Linked DNA regions of Homo sapiens: regions 1 and 2 are each linked to region 3. The links are contacts of gene promoters, found by promoter capture Hi-C in human tissues and cell types (Jung and others, 2019). All regions are on one chromosome and are shown on one strand. Each heading gives the region's core, a stretch centred on a gene start or on the middle of the fragment in contact. The rest is flanking DNA. Distances are from core to core; before and after follow the strand shown. Region 1 overlaps ANKRD55 (ankyrin repeat domain 55). Region 2 has its middle 58 kb from the start of IL6ST-DT. Region 3 holds the start of MAP3K1 (mitogen-activated protein kinase kinase kinase 1).

What was found. Contacts are between HindIII fragments. The study calls those that stand out against the background at their distance.
Region 1: a contact is called between a fragment that was not itself captured here and the fragment with the promoter of MAP3K1 in region 3, in 1 of the 25 tissues and cell types used here (dorsolateral prefrontal cortex).
Region 2: a fragment that was not itself captured here is called in contact with the fragment with the promoter of MAP3K1 in region 3 in 1 of the 25 tissues and cell types used here (heart left ventricle).

Annotation. Positions count from the first base shown.
Region 1 is chr5:56,102,718-56,107,595 of GRCh38, reverse strand. The region is part of intron 10 of ANKRD55 (ankyrin repeat domain 55); the gene reads left to right. Among named protein-coding and RNA genes, the nearest start is that of IL6ST-DT, 110 kb to the right of the region's middle. The HindIII fragment of the contact is 3,018 bases long and covers 354-3,371 here.
Region 2 is chr5:56,050,641-56,055,142 of GRCh38, reverse strand. No RefSeq gene overlaps it. Among named protein-coding and RNA genes, the nearest start is that of IL6ST-DT, 58 kb to the right of the region's middle. The HindIII fragment of the contact is 6,560 bases long and covers 1-4,502 here.
Region 3 is chr5:56,814,195-56,819,078 of GRCh38, reverse strand. It overlaps MAP3K1 (mitogen-activated protein kinase kinase kinase 1), which reads right to left and starts at 3,530. Exons shown (of 20, transcript NM_005921.2): 1 at 3,024-3,530. The coding sequence starts at 3,505. RefSeq lists silencers at 2,433-2,672, 2,853-2,972, 3,043-3,812 and enhancers at 1,898-2,721, 4,173-4,302. The HindIII fragment of the contact is 12,718 bases long and covers 1-4,884 here.

The sequences.
Region 1 (4,878 bases), core at 613-3,112, 710 kb after region 3:
CAGCTATCAACAAGGAGTCTTTTAGCTGGCCACGTTGCTATCCCTCCAAAATTGGATTTCTGTTTCTAAGTGAGGGAGGAGATATTAGATGGAGAGTTAGTACATTCTGACACATGTGCCACCCAAAAATTTCCATCTTATTTGAAATAAAAAGAAATTCAATAAACGTGGTTTGGGGATTTGCTCACTTACACAATGAAATAACTAGAAAAATCCTGGGACAGCAGAATAGCAGAAAGGGGAAGGTGAATTTCTCCAATGGAATCTGCCTATATCAAATATTTTTTTCAACCAATTTTTCTGAGTGCTGATTATAACTAGGAGCCATTCTAGGCAACTGAGTCATGATAAGATAAATTTCCCAAGTGTTTTCAGCCTATAAATCAGCTTTAAGGGGTATAGATTTACTAAAATGCTTCTGCAACTGACTTTAAATTGACTTTCTTCTCATGTTTAGATACAGTCATAGGGTTTCAAAAATGGAAAGGAGCTTAGTCATTTGATCAAACATTAAATGATTGCTGAGTGTTTATCACAGTTGATTTATCAAAAGAGAGTGAGGGATTTTTTTTTTTTTTTTTTTTTAGAGAGAGATAGGATCTGTCACCCAGGCTGGAGTACTGTGGCTTGATCATAGCTCACTTCAGCCTCAAACTCCTGGGCTTAAGCAATCCTCCCATCTCAACCTCCCATGTAACTGGAACTACAGACACATCTCCTCCTCTGGCTAATTTTTTTGTCATCATTTTTTTGTAGAGACAAGGGTCTCACTTTGTTACCCAGACTAGTCTAGAACCCCTGGCCTCAAGCAATCCTCCCATCTTGGCCTCCCAAAATGCTGGCATTATAGATATGAGCCACTAAGGCTGGGTGTGGTGGCTCATGCCTGTAATCCCAGCACTTTGGGAGGCCAAGGTAGGCGGATCACCTGAGGTCAGGAGTTCGAGACCAGCCTGGCCAACATAGTGAAACCCCATCTCTACTAAAAATACAAAAATACAAAAATTAGCCAGGTGTGGTGGCGGGCGCCTGTAGTCCCAGCTACTGTGGAGGCTGAGGTGGGAGAATCGCTTGAACTCAGGAGGCAGAGGTTGCAGTGAGCCGAGATCGCACCTGCACTCCAGCCTGGGCGACAGAGCAAGACTATGTCTCAAAAAAAAAAAAAAAAAAAAAAAGCTTTCCTAGCCTTACGGATTTTATTTTTGTGATCATTTTTAACAATAATTGTTTTGAGATCACTGAGGCTTCTGCACTACACTGAAGTGGGTGTTGTCGTTGTTGTTAGTCTAGGAGAGTTGAAACTTTATGTGAAAGTTTAATGTGGTAAAGCAGTTGGATAAATCATCCCACTATAGCACTGACTTGAACTTGGATTGTCCCTTTATCTTTGGATTTCCTCCTTTCCTGCCCTGGGTTTGGTAGAAATAATATGAGTTAGTAGTGCTGCTGTTAAAATTCCAGGCAGCCACTATCCAATGCTTACATCAGCAGCCCTGAACATTTAGCTGTAATGATTATTGCTTAACATTTATTGAGACCTGTCAGAGGTTGGATGCAGCAAGATGGGGGATGAAGCACTTATCCTAGAGACTTGGAATTTGGAGCACGTCAGCTTAATTCATTGCAGGCAGCTTTCAGAGAAAATGGAACAGAAAGCTCTGTGGTATTGTCTGCTAGCCTGGTTATTTATAAGCCGTCACAAGAAAAGTAAAAAAGTGTGCATTTCCTTTCTCCTGCAAAAGAGAGCTTCCTTCTCTAGAATTTTCTAGACTATCTCAGCCAACAATGCACTCTTCTGGCTGGTTAGGTCTGATCCTGTGATCCTTCTGTCTAAACCCATCAAACGTTTTGCATCTTTTCAGGACAAAGGCCAGGGTTCTAAACTGGGCAAACAAAGCCCTCACGGCATGGTCAGACCTCACGGCATGGTCATGCTCAGCTTCTGCACCGCCCATCTCAAATCCCCACCCCTACCTCTTCAGAAGTTCCTTGAATATGTCTCAGTTTCTTGACAATTTCATACCTTTCCATTCTATGACATCTTGGCCCTTGTTATTATTTTGGGTTCTCTCCACTGTGTGCTTGACCGATTCCTACAATCTTTTAAGAACCAGCTCAAAACTCACCTTCTATAATATGTGAAGGTCACCCTGATCTCTGTAGGAAATATGGCTCTTTCTTAGGACTGCTAATAAGAACAGCTCCACCTGGCCGGGCACGGTGGCTCACGCCTGTAATCCCAACACTTTGGGAGGCTGAGACGGGTGGATCACCTGAGGTCAGGAGTTCAAGATCAGCCTGGCCAACATGGTGAAACCCCATCTCTACTAAAAATACAAAAATTAGCCTGGTGTGGTGGCGCACGCCTGTAGTTCCAGCTACTCAGGAGGCTGAGGCAGGAGAATTGCTGGAACCCGGGAGGCAGAGGTTGCCGTGAGCCACGATGGCACTACTGCATTCCATCCTGAGAAACAGAGTGAGACACTGTCTCCAAAAAAAAAAAAAAAAAAGAATAGCTCCACCTTGCTGACCTACACACCTACACACTTCACTTTCCACAACATTGCAGGAGAGATTTTATCCTCTTTATAACTGAAGAAATTGAGACAGAGAGGTTAGCTCATCTGCCTAAGGTCACAGAGCTAGCTAGGAAGTGGCAGAGGAGATACTGGAACAAGGTCTATGGGATCCCAGAAAACCTCAACTTCTCTGGACCATTCCTTCCTCTGCAATGCCCTCACAAACTCTATCACAGCACTACTCATGGAGCTTCAAAACCATATGTTTACCTGTCTTTCCTCCCACATCAATTGCAATCCCCTCCTGAACGCCTTGCTTTCTCCTCTTTGTACTCTAGGGTCTGGAATATGATGAGTGCTCAATGGATGATTGCTGAATTATCTATTTATTATTGTTATTATCATTATTATTATTATTAATCCTGCAGTCACCTCGGGTTCCATCATGTAACTGTGAAAACATTTCCTATCCTTTTTTTCTAGGACAGTGGTCCTTGACCCTGTCCCCAAAGCTGAACACTCCCTGGAGTTGCCTGCAGCACCAGACAGCTTTGGGCTATGCACGGCTCCACCCTGTCCCTGAAAACTGAGCAAAATGCCAACATGGAATAAAGTTTAACTCCCCTTCATCTCCGAGTCACTGCTGTAGCCCTTCTTTGCCCACTGCTCCCATCTGCTTAGAGGAGGCAGAATAATAGAAGTTACAGGGTCAGCCCTATAGGGTTGAAGTCTAGGCTGTGTCCCTTCCTAGCGTGTGACTTGAGCACTTTTAGAACTCCTCCAAGTCACAAGGTCCTCATTTGTAAAATGAGGATGATAATAGAATGTATCTCACAAGAAAAAGTGATTGTCAGAGTTAAATAAGATTATGCCTACAGCATTTATCCCTATTCCTGACAAAAGTAAGTGTTCCATAAACATAACTCAAAATTATTATCTCGTTGGTTTTACAAATTTCTGCTCAAGTGTTCATGGATAAATAGTTGTTCGCTAATATAAATTTTCATGTTAATTCTACACAGGAATATTTTCTCTGTAAATAATGGCTCCTGAAGTTATTTGATGTTCAGTGTTCAAAAGGATAAAATATAATGGCAAAATATCCACCAGGGAGACTGGAGATTTAATCTCCATCAACTAACATTGCTGAGGTGGCCGCTTCTGCACAGACCATCCACCATGAGATTCACTTAAACAGATGCAAGTTGTTCTTGGCTAATCCTTTTGTTTTTTCTTTTTTTCTTATGCTATTTTGCTCCAACAGAAGACCCTTAAAGTCTAGGAGCATTGCTATAGCAATTCTGGTTCTTTCTTACTAGACTGATAGGCAAAAGATCAAATAATCTTTTTTTGTTAAGGTCTTTTGAGTACTTTACCCTATAAGCTAAATGCTTTACCCTTGTTCTCCAGTTTAATCCTCATGACAAGTGGAAAAGATATACAATTATTTTCACCATTTTGTATATGAAAAAATTGAGGTGTTGAGAGGTAATATCATTTGCCCAATGTCATATAACTGAAAAGTGGGGAAGCAGGGAATCAAGCCTAATTCTGTTTGACCCCAGAGCCCAACCAAGCTCCTATTCATGACACCATCCAGTCAATTTTAAAATGGATTTAAATCACATTTGTGTGTTCCCTTCTATTTTCAGGTATCGAACATCCGTATCTTAAAGTCAGTAGTACATTGATGAATGTTTAACAGCTAGCTTTCCAGGAGAAAAATCTGTGCTTGCTGATTTTTCACGGTGTAAATACACCCACCATGGCTGATTTCAAGACACTAGTGTGATGTCAAACAGTTCACAAAATTTCTGAAAATGTAACCATCAGCTCTCAAGAGCTGGCTCACATGGTCCATGCACACACCACTGCTTTCTGTCCAAGTTAAAGAATAGGTTTCCTGAGTGCATCTACCCCATTCCGTCTTCCAGGTCAATGATTCTCCATCCTGGCTGCACTTGAATCAGCTGGGAGCTGATAAACAGCTGACACCATGCCCCACCTCCAGAGATTCTGATCTAATAACCTGGGATGTGGCCAGGAAAGCAGTATGTTTTCTAGCTTCTTAGATAATTCCTATGTGCAGCCAGGACTGAGAAACTCTGCTTTAGAAGAAAATACTCTACTCATCACCCACTCATTTCATCAAAGATTTGATGAATATATAAGAGATGCCATATCTATATTATTTCCTTTTTTTTCAACTTTAACTTTTATGGGGTGAGTAACCCAGTGTGTTTCTTTATAAAATTTTATTTAAACTAGTACTCTCAAGAAATGATTTCTAGTACCTTTTTCTATCATTTAAACAGTGACTGGTATATAACAGAAATGCAATAAAGTGTAGCTATCATTG
Region 2 (4,502 bases), core at 938-3,437, 760 kb after region 3:
CACTCCAGCCTGGGCAGCAAGAGCAAAACTTCATCTCAAAATAAATAAATAAATAAAGATCTTTTAACATAAAGTCCAGCCAGGTACAACCTTCCAAGATCAGATCTTCCAAATATCAGAATGACCTGGGAGCACATTTTTTTAGGTTTTTTAAAAATTGAGATAAAATGTATATGACATAAAATTAACCATTAACCATTTTAAAGCATACAATTCAGTGGCATTTAGTACATACACAATGTTGTGCAATCATTACCTCTAACTATTTCCAAGAAGTTTCACCACTCGCAAGGACATTCCTTACCCATTAAAAAATCACACTTGGGCTATGGCTCATGCCTGTAATCTCAGCATTTTGGGAGGCTGAGGCAGGCAAATCCCTTGAGGCCAGGAGTTCAAGACCAGCCTGGCCAACATGGCGAAACCCCATCTCTACTAAAAATACAAAAATTATCTGGGTGCAGTGGTGTACACCTGTAATCCCAGCTACTCGGGAGGCTGAGGCATAAGAATCACTTGAACCAGGGGGACAGAGGTTGCAGTGAGCCGAGATTGCACCACTACACTCCAGCCTGGGCAACAGAGCAAGACTCTGGTCTCCAAAAAACAAAGAAATTACACTAGAGGAGCATTTTTAAAGTATATATTCCAAGGCCCCATACTGAAGAAATTGCAAATCCATGGGAAGGGGAATATTTTTCAAAACTTCTCAGGTATCTCACTTTTAGGTATTTACCTAAGATAAGTGGAAACATGTTCCTACAATGAACTATATACATGAATAGTTATAATATTTTTATTCATAATCACCCAAACCTGGTAAAAACCCAAATGTCTCTCAGTTGAGTAACACACAGAGAAACAGTGATACATCTGTACAATGGAATAGTACTCAGCAATTAAAAAGAACACACATGCAACAGCAAGGATGACTCTCCAGTGTATTATACGCAGGGATACAACCCATTTTCCATACTGTATTCCATTTATATGACATGCTGGAAAATGCAAAACCATAGTGAAGGAGAACAGATTAGTGGTTTCCAGGATTGAAAGGCTGAGGCTGGGTTTTGAGCACAAAGGGGTATTTGAGCACAGGGCATTTCTGGAGGGGTGATGGACTGTTCTACCCCAAGTTGTGTCACTTGATTGTGGTGGTAGTGACAAGCATATGTCAAAACTCATAGAGCCCCCAAAAGTGTGAATTTTACTAGATTTAAATTTTACAAAGTTTTAGACCTCTCTGTTGGTTTCTGATGAGCAGCCTATTTGGGGAACTAGTTCATAGGACTGAGATGGGATCATTCCTTTGACCTTTTCACGGGACTTGCAAAGGGGTGGCTCACTTACTCAGCCTGCAGCACTCAAACTCCTTGCTGGAGGCAGACCACACAGGTAGGTGGGTGCAGGAGCCACAGTGAGTGTCTTTGGGCGCTGGTGGGAAGGAAACCCCTACCAGCCCGTGGCAGCATCTAGGGATTGCCCGTGACCCCTGGAGCCCCAGAGGGTGTGTGTTACAGTGTGTTCCTTTAGCTTTGCCATCTGTGAACAGCTTAAGCATTAACCAGCTTAGTGGAGGGTCAAGGTGACAGCCTTTTATACCCTGCCCTCTTAGTACCTAAGTTCTTGTCTGGCATCCAGGAAGAATCAGGTCACATAAACAGATTGAAGGGTAGTGTACAAGGAGGATTTTATTGAGTGGTGGAAGTGGCTCTCAGTGAGAAAGGGAGCTGGAAGGGGGATGGAGTGGGAAGATAATCTTCCCCTGGAGTTCGGCCATCCTCAGCCAAATTCTTCCCCAAAGTCCCACCCATCAAACCATCCCTCTGAAGTCAAACTGCTTTTCTCCGATGTCCAGCTGCTTCTTCTCTTCTCTCCTTCTCTGCCACTCTGCTCTGCTCCTCTGCCAGTGACCCTTGGGGTTTTTATGGGTACAGGATTGGGGGGTGTGGTGGGCCAGGGTGGTTTTGAAAAGGCAACGTTTGGGCAAGAAAACAGGAATGCATGCTCTCATTTAGGGCTGTGGGTCCAGGCTTGAGAGTAGAGCCCTTTCCAGGGACCCCATCCTTTTCTACCTAGTATTTCCCTGCCTCCTGTCCATATCAGGATGATGTTAGACAACCTAGTTATTCTTTAATCCATTCAAGTTACACTTTGGACACTCGGGACTCATTGACTTATCATTACTATTTATCTGGTCATTATCATAGCATTTGAATATTTTCCACAGAGTAGAGGTACAAAAGTAATCTGGCATGCTGACACAACACATATGGTATGTATTTGAGTATATGACAGACCACAGGGCATTGGCTACATAATGGTTTTGTTCTAGTGTTTGCCAAGCTGAAATCACCACACCATATGTAGTGACTTTAGAATTTTCTTTAAAATGAGTTATACTTTATCTCATCAAATTAATCTTGATCCATTGATATGAAAGTCATTCCCACTGATGTGATCAAAATACAATCTATGAATTTAGCACAAAACATGTTGAACAACTGAAACATGTTTAACAAAACATAATGTTTAGCAACTGATTTTTAAGATCAGTCCTGCTATAGTTTGAATATCTATCCTCTCCAAAGCTTGTGTTGTAATTTTTTTTTTTTTTTTTTTTTTTTTTTGAGACGGAGTTTCACTCTTATTGCCCAGGCTGGAGTGCAATCATGCAATCTCAGCTCACCACAACCTCTGCCTCCCGGGTTCAAGCGATTATCATGCCTCAGCCTCCCAAATAGCTGGGACTACAGGTGTGTGCCACCACGCCCAGCTAATTTTTTGTATTTTTAGTAGAGATGGGGTTTCACCAGGTTAGCCAGGATGGTCTCAATCTCCTGACCTCATGATCCACCCGACTTGGCCTCCCAAAGTGCTGGGATTACAGGTGTGAGCCACCACACCTGGCCTCGTGTTGTAATTTAATCCCCAATGTGACAGTATTGAGAGCTGAGGCCTTTAAGAGGTGCTTGGGTCAAGAGGGATTAATGGATTAATGGACTAATGGATCAACAAGTTTTCATGAGAGGGGACTGGTGGCTTTACAAGAAGAGGAAGAAGATGAGCTAGCATGCTCAGCCCCTGTACCACCTCAGGACTCTGCAGAGAGTCCCCATCAGCAAGAAGGCCCTCACCAGATTCAGCCTCTTGACTTTGGACTTGTCAGCCTCAGGCTTGACCTTCTTGCCAGCCTTATAAGAAATAAGTTCATGGCCGGGCGCGGTGGCTCACGCCTGTAATCCCAGCACTTTGGGAGGCCGAGGCGGGCGGATCACGAGGTCAGGAGATCGAGACCATCCCGGCTAAAACGGTGAAACCCCGTCTCTACTAAAAATACAAAAAATTAGCCGGGCGTAGTGGTGGGCGCCTGTAGTCCCAGCTACTTGGGAGGCTGAGGCAGGAGAATGGCGTGAACCCGGGAGGCGGAGCTTGCAGTGAGCCGAGATCCCGCCACTGCACTCCAGCCTGGGCGACAGAGCGAGACTCCGTCTCAAAAAAAAAAAAAGAAATAAGTTCATTTCTTATAATTGTAAAAAATAAATTCCTTTTTTTAAATCAACTACCCAGCTTCATGTATTCTGGTATAAGCAACAGAAAACAGACAAAGATAAACCCCAAATAAAAAACAAATAAACAAAAAAATCCAGAAGCTTTTATGTGATAAAGCTAATGATCCTAACCAACTCCAGTGAAGATCATTTTGGTTCTTTTCATAAAGTTCAATACCTATTTTATAGAAAAGAAAAGAGGTTAACTTAGACAAGATTCAAAGTGAGTAGATAGCATATTTTATAATAGACTCCTCATAGAATCATGGATCTCTTTGTGAAAATTTACAACTATGGAAAACATTAAAATAATGTGCAGATATTTATGTATATAACCAGCCTCACTGATTACCATCTAACTCGTGTTTAATCTCACTTAAAAAAAAAAAAGCATATCCTGCTGTGGCTGATCATCCACTCAAAACAACATGACTAAAATTCAAATAGAAACTCCCACATAAAATAAGAAGAAAAGAAACAAAAAGTAGGCAATGTTTAGATTGGAAGATAAAGATAATTTCAACTGTGGAACAAAGGAAACAAACAAAGATCTCTCCATGCCTTGAGGTAGATCCTATCTGATGTTTCTACCCCCTTAGGTATACTTTCTACTTTGCAATTCTCCTTGCTTGCTCTATTTTCAAACTATTTCTGTTAATATTATTGCTTTGCTTCCTCCTTACTTTGCAAACAATAGCTGCAACTCTTTCTGAGACACTCTGTTCACATTGCTTCTTTTTTTAGAGCTGCTTGTGCCTGAGAGGAAATGGAGCTACAAGTGTTTCCTTTCCACTCAAAACTTGCATTTTTTTTTGTAGTGGGGGAGATAGCTGAGGCTTATAATTTGCTCCAGACAGTTTGAGATAGCACTGAGTTTTCCAATATGCCTCTCTTGAAGTCCTTGTGTTATAAATTATTTATAAATTTTATCACAACTTCCAGGAAGCAAAC
Region 3 (4,884 bases), core at 2,281-4,780:
TGACACCATTCTTAACTAAAAACTTACAAATTCACGGAAGACTAACTTATGTGACTACCTTTATTTTTATAAAGTCACCCACTTAATATTTTAAGAGTAATTTTTAGGTAATAATGCTCTTATACCTCCTCTTTAGTAAAAGGTCACTAAATCATATTTTTAGCCTAATAGCTTTAAAAAGGAAGTGAAATCTGAGGGCTATATGAGGATATAAAAGCAGCCTGTGAAATACCTTTAGTTTTAAACAAAAACTAACATTAACAAGTACAGCATATCTTGTTCTTTCACGGGGCCAGCAAATTGATAGTTTGGTTTTTTAAGTTACAAAAATAGGATGGGGTAATTATATCTACCAAACTCACAATAGGCTGTTCAATGGAGAGTAACACTGTAATTTTTCTTCAAAGACAGTAAATAGGAAGAAAAAGCCCCTAAATTCTGTAATATAAGGAAAAATTCCAAACCCTTGGGCGCCACTTACAGGCACTTTCACTGATTTCAGCTATCACCCTGAAAAAGAGGGACAAACTTAAAATCTTCTATTTAAATACGAGTATTATTTATTTATATAAATTCTAATTCAAAGTATATTTTCTACATTCAAAGATCAGAAGGAAATTCTAAAATTAAAAAAAAGATCACAGAACTCTCAAATATTTCAAAATCTTAGATTTTCCTCTTGGAAGTATGAATGTAACTTAACTGTCAAAAAAAAGTAAAACATAAAGTTCAATTGATATTTTATTGAGTTGGCTATAATTAAGGGTTTTTTTTCCTAAAACTTTAAATGGTAAGTAATAGTGTAGCATAACCAACATGCAATACAAAATATACACACTCAAATAAGATACAAGCCCTTTCCCCACAAAGTTTTATACGAACAGATTCAAATGAATTTCAACCCAATTGTTAAGAAAAAAAAATTCACTATATTTCATAAGGTTAGGGAATCAACATTTTACTATAAATGAAATCTTTACGTATGACATTTGGGATAAACCAACAGCATTCTGACTCGTAAAAATAATTTCTTTAAAAAAGATTATCCTTACAAGCCCATTATTTTCTTATACTGTGCAATTATAATCTACACCTTAAGCAAAGGGGAAAAAACCTCGGTTACAAAACGCAAATACTAAGCATGGATTACTTAGTCCCTAAATTCTATCTGCCTCCACCTTAGTCCTCTTATTTTGTGTCAAGAGACAACATTAAACAATTTCAGTACATTATTTTTACAGTGGATGCTCTTCTACTATATTCACAGCTCATTAAGAGTACTAGAATGCTGACGTTTGCTAAATTATTTATTGTATCCAAAAAGTTAGGTCTCAATAGATACAATTTCTTAAATTTGGGGTTAAAAATTTTTATCTGGAATTCATTTAAAGTAGAAGTTGCCTTCAAAGAATTATTCCAGTTAAGTTTTAATACAATCTGCACAGAAATGGGAAAACTATAGAGGTACATAACTCTTGTAAGAATAAATTACATGTACAAGTGCACACAAAACTGTATCAGTCACAAATCTCCTTTGGTCTCAGTAGTGCCATGGTACAGTGCGAAGCATATTTTTTAGTTCTTGGGGAGAGGAAGGGGACTTCCAAATACTAAATGGATCGTGATTTTAAGCAAATAATCAAATGCACAAAAAATGCCAGATCACTTTAGATAATGAATCCAAACCAAGGACTCCTACTGTCAAATTCGTCTCACAAAATGACACGCTTTCTTCTCATAATAAAGGTCAGGGAATTCTACAGGGCCACGAGGGACTATCACAAAAACATTTCCAGCAACTCAAAATACCCATCAAGACTTTGTACTTTGCATACGTTAATCAGGTTTTTAAAAAACAAACAAACAAGGATGTAGCTGTCACACTTAAAAGAATTTCCTTTAACATAAAAATTTCCAGTAGCCAAAAATGGGCGAGGCCAATAAACCGCTGGTCTAAATTACCTTACACATACTGTACTTCATATGCACCAGAAGACGCATCTGAGCCGAAGCCCACCGCACTGCGGCCCCTGGAATTCAGCGGGCGGCCCGCGCCAGGGCACCGAGCAGGAAGCACTGCACCCGCGCCGCAGTCCCCGGGCCAAGCCGGAGGGGCTGCGGGGAGCAGTCACCACTGCTTTGAAACTGAATGGCTGACACATCCGGTCCTGGCTCTTACACCACTCCGCCAAATGCAAACTTCAAAGGCCAAATTCAAACTCCAAACAGAAGTCACTCAAGTGACTTAGCAGTGCAGTTCGCATTCCCAGGAACACTCAAAGCCCCTTGGGGGCTGCAATTAGACAAACCGCACTTCCTAAAAGACTGCAAGCCTCCGCGAGTGTGCAGCCTCCCGCCGCACGGCTTTGACAGGCGTTACCGAGCCGTCCTCCTGGAGCCCTGCGGCCGGCGCTGGGGGCGCGCCGCCTGCGTCCGGGCCCAGCCCGCGGTATCTGCCTAGGGACTCGAGTCCCGGGCGGGCCGAGGGGCTCTGCCTGTCACGGCCGCTGGGACCTGCTACTTTCTCTTCGGTCCTCTCAGTCTCCCACCCGACCTCGGGCTTCTCACCCACCCCGCCCCTCTTCCGACCACCGCCCGCCTCAGGCTCGGGCCTCGCCCCCCAGTGCCTTTGCCCCGGGGACACCCGTCCGGGGGCGCCGCCGCAGGGCCGTGCCCCGCCCCCGGGCTCCTCGGAGAGCCCCGATTCCAGGAGTCCCACAAAGCCAGCCGTGGCCCCCTACACCTTTTCGCAACGGTTCCCCGCAGAGAGGCTCGCACGCCTGTCACATGTCTGCAAACAATAACAAACTCTTCCGCACGTCCCCGTCCGGTCCCCCAGGCTGGGTCCGGGGCGCCGCCCGACTCCGAAGGGGTCGGGGGGTGCTCAGGGGCGTAGGTCCCGGCGAGCGGCGCGTAGCCTCGCTGCGCTGAACCCCGGGACGCCGTGCATGGTGCCCGGGGTTCATTCATTGCCCTCTGCCCGCTCTCCAAGTCCCCGCCGCGACCCCGGCCGTGCTGCTCACCCGGCGGGGGCCGCTGCAGGAGACGGCTCGGCGGCGGGCGCCCGCTTCTCCCCGGGCTCGGCCGCTGCGGGACTCGAGGCGCCGCTGTCCGGCGCCGCCACCGACTCGGTAAGGTGGGCGCCGCCGCGGCTCGCGGCTCCGTGGGGCGGCGGCACCGCCACAGGCTGGAAGCCGGTCCCACTCCCCGCTGCGTCCGCGGGCTCCGGCGACGGGGAAGTCGAGGAGGCCGGCGGTGAGGCGGCAAGGAAGAGCGGCTGCTCAGGCAGCTGGTCCAGCTCCACACTCCGCACTTTGCGCAGCTGCCGCCGCCGCCAGTCCGCCCGCTCGCGGCCCCCGCTGCCCGCCTCCCGCAGCAGTCCCGCGGCAGCCGCGGGCGCGCTGCTCGCCTTGAGGGCTCCTCCGCCGCCGCCTGCCTCAGGGCTCGTAGCCCTGGCGCCCGGGAATCCCGACGACGAGGCGCGATTCCCCGCCGCCGCCGCCATTTTCTCTCGCGGGCTACATTCGCTCGGCCCCTGCGAGGGAGGGAGGGGGCGGGGAGAGCGCAGGGGGCGGGCACTGCGCCGCCAGCGTAAGGCCTCCTGCGCCAACTGCGTGAGCGCGGCCCGCCGGGCGCCTGGCCTGGACTGACCGACGGGCGGGCGCACTGGGTCCGGCCTGCGGCAGAGGTGTGGGTGGAGGGCGGCCCGGCGGCCGCAGGTGGGAGGGAGTGGGCTGTGCTCTCCGCCGGGCGAGAGGGCGGGCGGGCGAGGTGGACTGGGAGGCGGAGGGGGCGGGGGCGGAGGCGGAGGCGTGGGCTCCCGGGACTCTGCGCGCTGCACGCGCCGCGCCGCCAGGTAGTCCCGGCCGCACCGGCGACAGGAGGAGCCTTGGCGGCAGCGCTGCGCCGCTTCCTCTCGGCAATCTCGGCCCGGCACCGCGGAGCTCGCGGGAGGGGAGTTGCACCTTCCGAAAGAAAGAATTAGTTCCAACTTGGGTTTCTGGTGCTTGAAGGGGACGCAGGCGAGAGGGTTTACAGTCTGTCATTCCCACTGCCCTTTGCAGTGGGCGTCGGGGGACCCGGGCGTGGACCAGCCTCCCACCGACGCGCAGGTGGCGCCCGGGACCGTCGCCTGCTGCAAAGCGAAAGCAAGTCAACGTTCAGCAGACAGGCTGCCGCGGACCAGAAAAATAAAGTTTTGTTTGTGTTTTCTTTTGAAAAGAAAACATTCCTTCTCTATTGTCCCACCCCTGTCCCTGTGCTACAGATAACAAAACTTCAAAGTTTTCTGTAATACCTTACATCCTGAAGCTGCTGATTTGGGACAACTACCCCCTACCCTCACCAAGTCCCCACAGCCTCTGAGAAACCGTTGGGGCGAGGAAGGGAGGCGGGTGTCCCCGTCGATCTTTAGTTTTTCCTTGGCTGTCTTTGGGAAAGGCAGTCCCGTACAGAACCACATATAGCGCGTTTGGGGAGGGGACCAGCGCTGTGCCAGGAAGTGCTCGGTAATGTCACCCTCGGCCAGGTCCCGGCCCTCCCCGAATCCGATGCTTCTCGCCGCACGTCCTTCTTCCCTGCAGGGTCGGGCCACCGGCCGGGTTCCCTCTGTCCCCACTCCTGCAGGGCCTGGCTGCCCATCGCTGCGTTGTGAGTCCTCCTAGTCCCTGGACTCTACGTGAGAAGGTGCTTTGGGATGGAAAAAGCAACATTTACACGTTAATGATTTTTGACCTTTTGTCAACTGAGGAGAACTTCTGTGTTGCGTTTATTTCTTCCTTCCTTTCCTTTCCTCCAGCTGGTTTGTTTAGGATGGGGAATCTCCCAAAACCCAGGAGGAACGTCTATAGATTTACTTTGTGAAACATGATTAAGGAGGGGGGA